2 separate regions of the Homo sapiens genome follow, and region 2 is linked to region 1. Evidence: promoter capture Hi-C in 16 types of primary human blood cells and fetal thymus (Javierre and others, 2016). All regions are on one chromosome and are shown on one strand. The core of a region is centred on a gene start or on the middle of the fragment in contact, and the rest is flanking DNA. Distances in the headings are between cores, read along the strand shown.

Region 1 (3,075 bases), core at 380-2,879:
GCAACAAAGGATTTGAATATTCCATAAACTTAGTTGATAAAGCAGAGGCAGGGTTTGAGAAAACTGGATTGACTCCAATTTTGAAAGGTCCACTGTGGGTAAAATATTATCAACCAGCATCACACGCCATCAAGAACTCTTTCATGAAAACAAGTCAATCAATATAGCAAATGTCATTGTTGTCTTATTTTAAGGAATTGCCACAGCCACCCCAACCTTCAGCAGCCACCATCCAGATCAGTCAGCAGCCATTAACAAGGAGCAAAGACCCTCCAACTAGCAAAGAATATGACTTGCTAAAGGCCTAGATGATTGATAGCTTTTTTTTTTTTTGAGACCGAGTTTTGCTCTTCTTGCCCAGGCTGGAGTGTAATGGCGTGATCTCGGCTCACCACAACCTTCGCCACCCGGGTTCAAGCGATTCTCCTGCCTCAGCCTCCCTAGTAGCTGGGATTACAGGCATGCGCCACCATGCCCAGCTAATTTTGTATTTTTAGTAGAGACAGGGTTTCTCCATTTTGGTCAGGCTGGTCTTGAACTCCCCATCTCAGGTGATCCGCCCGCCTCGGCTTCCCAAAGGGCCGGTATTACAGGCGTGAGCCACCACGCCCAGCTGATAGCATTTTTTTAGCAGTCATGTATTTTATTTACTTGTTTATTTTTAGAGACAAGGTCTCACTCTGTCGCCAGGCAGGGGTGCGGAGGCACAATCATAGCTCACTGTAATCTCGAACCTCTGGGCTCATGCGACCCTCCTTCCTCAGAGCAATTAACAAATGTATATATACTTTTTCCTTCCTCTCTCCCAATATTTTAAATTAAGGTATGCACATTGTTTTAGACATAACGCTATTACACGCTTAATAGACTACATTATAAACATGATTGTATTTGCACTGGGACATGAAACATTTGTGAGACCTCACTTTGTCATATTGCGGTGGTCTGGAACCAAATTCGCAGTATCTCCAAGGTATGCCTGTACTAGATTTTCTATGCTTGAGTTTAGTCCATATCGTAAATACCTTGGAGGCAAAAGGAACACGGCAGAGAGCACAAAGAGGACAATACATATTTGCTGAAAAACAGTAGGACACAGAACTGCTGACGACGACAGCCTTGCCCTCTCCAGTTGACTGCAGCAAATGTTGCCAATTTGCCAGAGACAAGCAATTCGAGGAGAGAAAAGCTGCTTGCCTTTTCAGTTAGCAAGAAAAGTGCTGGGTTTGTCTTCTGCCGAGCACCCGCAACCCAGATCCCGACCCGAGATTCCTGAGACACACTTTCGGTGGAGGGAACTCCTAGCAGCAACGCCCAGCCCCCGGCGTGACCCTCCGACCGCACTTGCCTCCCAGCCTGGGAAGGTGGAAGAGGCCGCCCAAAGTCCCCTCAGTTGGCCAGTGAGTGACCCCTGGGCGGAGGCGGCGCAGTGGCCCCCAATCCAGCCTCGGGGCGAGAGGCGGGGCGCGCCGCGCGCCCCCGCCCATCGCGGGCGCCCCAGCCCTGCGCGCCAGGCCTGCGTGTCCTCGCGCCGACCCCTCCCTCGCGCGCCTCGCCCGGCGCACGCGCGTGGCCTCGCGCAGGGCGGGGAGAGGCGGTGGCTGTGGGCGTCCGGCCCCGAACCTGTCAGACCTGGGGAGCCGGCCTCCAGCAGCGGGCGCGGCGGGCGCGAGCACGACCCCACTCTCCTGCGGCCGCGGGTGGAGCAGCGCGAGCCCGCCTCGCTGAGCCGGCCGGGGGCGGGGAGATGAGTTGCGGCCCCGCGGCAGCGCCCCAGGTATTAAATAGATGTGCCGCCCCCTCGCGGAGCCCCGGCGGAGCGTCGGGGTCGGCCCTGCGACCCGCCGCCAGCGGCTTCGGAACTTGAGGACAGGGTTGGGCGCCTTTAATTTATAACGTGTTTCGTTTTCCACAGGATGGGGAGGGACGCGCGGCACTGCCCTCGAGAACTGGCGCTCCGGTGAAGTAGGCGCCGCCGGCCGTCCGCCTCCCCCAAGCCGTTCCGCACCGCGGCCGCTCAGCCTCTGCCATGGCCGGCTCTGGCGCGTGGAAGCGCCTCAAATCTATGCTAAGGAAGGATGATGCGCCGCTGTTTTTAAATGACACCAGCGCCTTTGACTTCTCGGATGAGGCGGGGGACGAGGGGCTTTCTCGGTTCAACAAACTTCGAGTTGTGGTGGCCGATGACGGTTCCGAAGCCCCGGAAAGGCCTGTTAACGGGGCGCACCCGACCCTCCAGGCCGACGATGATTCCTTACTGGACCAAGACTTACCTTTGACCAACAGTCAGCTGAGTTTGAAGGTGGACTCCTGTGACAACTGCAGCAAACAGAGAGAGATACTGAAGCAGAGAAAGGTGAAAGCCAGGTTGACCATTGCTGCCGTTCTGTACTTGCTTTTCATGATTGGAGAACTTGTAGGTGAGTTGTGTTGCCAACTCACTTTCCGTTTACCTTTCCTCGAGAGTCTTTGTCAAGCTGTAGTTACACAGGCTTTGAGGTTTAACCCATCTTTTCAGGAAGTTTGTATTTATCAAGACACTGATCTCATGTGAAAAGGCCACACGGTTCCAAAGTGCAGCTCAATCTAAGTACAATATAAACTCCCCGAGATAACTTTGACTTTCTCTTCTAGTTGTTCAACCACTGTCATCTACCGTAAAGTTAAGGACGTTATCTTCATTGTATGTCATGTAACTTCCTCTTTTTACAAAGGTCTGGTAAAATACCAGGTTAATTTTCGCAACGTTTAAAATAGTAAATGATCGTAAATAACTTAAGATCATAGAATTTTACAGTATGAAGGGACCTTACTGAACACCTGCTCCACCTCCTTTTTTTTTTTACATGTAAGGATTTCCAGGGCACAAACCAGTGGAATAAGTCGTGAGGGCCACTTAGGGAGTTAATGGAAGAGCCACATCTACAGTCCCAGCATTTTTTTCCTCTACATTTGACCTAAGTGGTTTCTTTTATACGATTTCCTTTTGTATTTATAGCCAAGAGATTTGCAAAATTAATTACCAACTAACATGAAATTTTTGCCTCGTAAGAAGGGCCTGAAATGAACCAGAGG
Region 2 (3,075 bases), core at 576-3,075, 120 kb before region 1:
AGGCCAAGGTGGGCGGATCACGAGGTCAGGAGATGGAGACCATCCTGGCCAATATGGTGAAACCCCGTCTCTCCTAAAAATACAAAAATTAGCTGGGTATGGTGGCACATGCCTGTTATCCCAGCTACTGGGAAGGCTGAAGCATGAGAATCGCTTGAACCCAGAAGGCGGAGGTTGCAGTGAGCCAAGATCGTGCCACTGCACTCCAGCCTGGTGACGGTGGCGCAAGATTCCGTCTCAAAAAAAAAACAAAAAAACAAAAAAACAAAAAACTATCATTGAAATAATAACTAACATTTATTGTTTACCAGTTGTACTTGTGCTGTCTCAAAGACTCCTCATAACCTTATAAATAAAATCCCCATTTTACAGATGATAAAATTGAGGGTTTGAGTAGAGATAGAGAACTTGCCTAAGGTCACATGACTAAGCAACAGAACTTAATTCAAACTATCTAATAATTCAGGAAAAATGCCTGTTGGCTGAAATTATTTTATTTTATTTTGTTTTTGAGACAGTCTTGCTCTGTCACTTGTCGCCCAGGCTGGAGTGCAGCAGCATGATCTCCACTCACTGCAGCCTCCGCCTCCTGGGCTTAAGCGATTCTTGTGCTTCAAGTCTCCCGAGTAGCTGGGATTACAGGCACCCACAACCACGCCCAGCTAATTTTTCTACTTTTAGTAGAGGCGGGATTTTGCCATGTTGGCCAGGTTGGTCTCAAACTCCTGGCCTCAAGAGATCCACCCGCCTTGGCCTCCCAAAGTGCTGCGATTTACCGGCCTGAGCCACCGGGCCTGGCCCAAGCTACTTTAAATTTGAATGAAAATAAAATAATCCCAGCACTTTGGGAGGCCAAGGCGGGCGCACTGCTTGAGCTCAGGAGTTCGAGACCAGCCTGGGCAACAGGGCGAAACCCCATCTCTACTAAAAGTACAAAATTTAGCCAAGCGTGGTGGTGTGCTTCTATAATCCCAGCTACTAGGGAGGCTGAGGCAGGAGAATCACTTGAACCCAGGAAGAGGAGGTTGCAGTGAGTGGAGACTGCCTCACTGCACTCCTGCCTGGGCCACAGACAAAGACCCTGTCTCAAAAAAAAAAAAAAAAGTTAAAGTAGCTTGGTTGAATCCCATGGAGTGAGGTGGGAGGTGAGAGTGAATATATGTTTTGTTTTGTTTTGTTTTTTTCTAACAGAGTTTCACTCTGTTGCCCAGACTGGAGTGCGGTGGCATGATCTCGGCTCACTGCAACCTCCTCCTCCCGGATTCAAGCGATTCTCCTGTCTCAGCCTCCTGAGTAGCTGGGATTACAGGCGCCCACCACAACACCCAGCTAATTTATATATTTTTAATAGAGACTGAGTTTCACCATGTTGGCCAAGCTGGTGTCGAACTCCTGACCTCAGTTGATCCACCAGCCTCGGCCTCCCTGTTACTAAATTTTAGCTTACTAAATAAACTGAAAAGAAAGAAATTAAGTTTTTTTGGCAGAGAAGGGCAAGGTACAATAATAGTACTGATTTAATTTTTTAGGAGTCTTTATCTTTCAGAAATATACACCGAGATTCTTATAGTTGAAATGACTCGGAATTTGCTTGAAAATATTTTAGGAGGTGTAAGTGGGTAGGGGTGTAGATGAAACAAAATGGGCCATGAGTTGGCAATAATTTGAAATCAGTGGATGGATATATATGGGCATTCCTTGTGGCAGTCTATTTTTGTACATGTTTGATGAAAGTTTACACAATAAAAACTTAAAATGAGTGAATGAATGAAAAATTTAAAAAAACTATGTCAGAGTGAACACTGGTTTTGCTCTTTAGTCACTGAAATGTTAAGGTTTGGGCATATTTCAATAATAGCAAGATATTAGCAATACAAGTAATAGCAACACAACTTATAATCATACATCCTCCCATGTGCATAGAGCTTTACAATTCACAGGGCCCAAACCTGAGCCCACACCGGAAGTATTGATATCACTTTACAAATGGGAAAACTGAGTTCCAAGAGGTGAAGTCACTCAAGGGTTTCACACAATGCATCAGCAGCAGGGCCAGAGCTAGCATGAATTCTTTTTCTGACGAGCAACTTTTTCTGAATATCCTTTGCAGCAGCAATGCAGGCATTAGCAGGAGCTAGCAATTCAGAGAAGGAGCAATTCCCAGTCTGCACCTTCCAGCTCCAGGGATGGCCTCTCTGCTGCGATAGGGCAGAACAGAAGAGTCCTGCATCTCTGGGTGGCCCCACATGCTGTCTCCTAGAGGGGCCGGCCTCTAAGCAGGGGCAGATCTGGGTTTTATGGGCATTGAACCCTATACAATTTGGGGCTTCAAATCTGGGGTTTCATAACCCAAAATTACCAATACAAAATTAGATACAATATCCAATATGTATTTTGAATGAGAAAGTAAATCACAACAAATACCTGTATCCTTGGTGAGTCAGGACCCTTTGTTCTGCGATCTCTTTTAGAAAATGTATCAGAAATACAAACATAGCAATGCTTGCTAGTTACAAGCTGGCTGCCTCCTGGAACATGGGAAAACTCCCTGCACCCACAGCCAATAAAGGGTCAAAACAAGATTTAACTGGAGGAGGTGAAAGGAATGAGGGAGGCAACCAAAGCAAACATCATCATTTCCCTATTACATGAAGGACATTCCTGGAAACTGGCTCACAAGATTATAGAAGCTAAGTCCCAATTCTGTAGTCAGCAGGCTGAAGACCCGGGAGAGCCTATGGTACAGTTTCAGTCTCAAGGCCAGCTCAAGACACAGGACAAGCCATGTTTCAGTTGACTCTCAACACAGAAGAACATCCGATATCCCAGCTCCAAGACACTCAGGCAGGCAGGGCTGATTGTCTCTCATTCACGGGAGTGTTCGCCTTTTTGTTCTACTGAGGCTTTCAGCTGATTGCGTAAGGCCAACCCACATTGGGGAAGACAATCTGTTTTGCTCAATCTACCCATTCAAATGTTACTCTCATCCAGAAACCCCCTCACAGGCACACCCAGAATACCGTTTGACCAAATTTCTAGGCACCCCATAGTCCAGTCAAACTGGAACATAAAATT

What was found. Contacts are between HindIII fragments. The CHiCAGO score rates a contact against its expected background, and 5 or more counts as called.
Region 2: a fragment that was not itself captured here is called in contact with the fragment with the promoter of SLC30A4 in region 1 in 1 of 17 cell types (naive B cells); the score reaches 5.2 in naive B cells.

The regions. Positions count from the first base shown.
Region 1 is chr15:45,521,309-45,524,383 of GRCh38, reverse strand. It overlaps SLC30A4 (solute carrier family 30 member 4), which reads left to right and starts at 1,629. Exons shown (of 8, transcript NM_013309.6): 1 at 1,629-1,777; 2 at 1,916-2,420. The coding sequence starts at 2,030. It also overlaps the pseudogene HMGN2P46. RefSeq lists a silencer at 1,437-1,926. The HindIII fragment of the contact is 8,884 bases long and covers 1-3,075 here.
Region 2 is chr15:45,645,358-45,648,432 of GRCh38, reverse strand. The region is part of intron 1 of SQOR (sulfide quinone oxidoreductase); the gene reads right to left. Among named protein-coding and RNA genes, the nearest start is that of SQOR, 12 kb to the right of the region's middle. The HindIII fragment of the contact is 4,297 bases long and covers 1-3,075 here.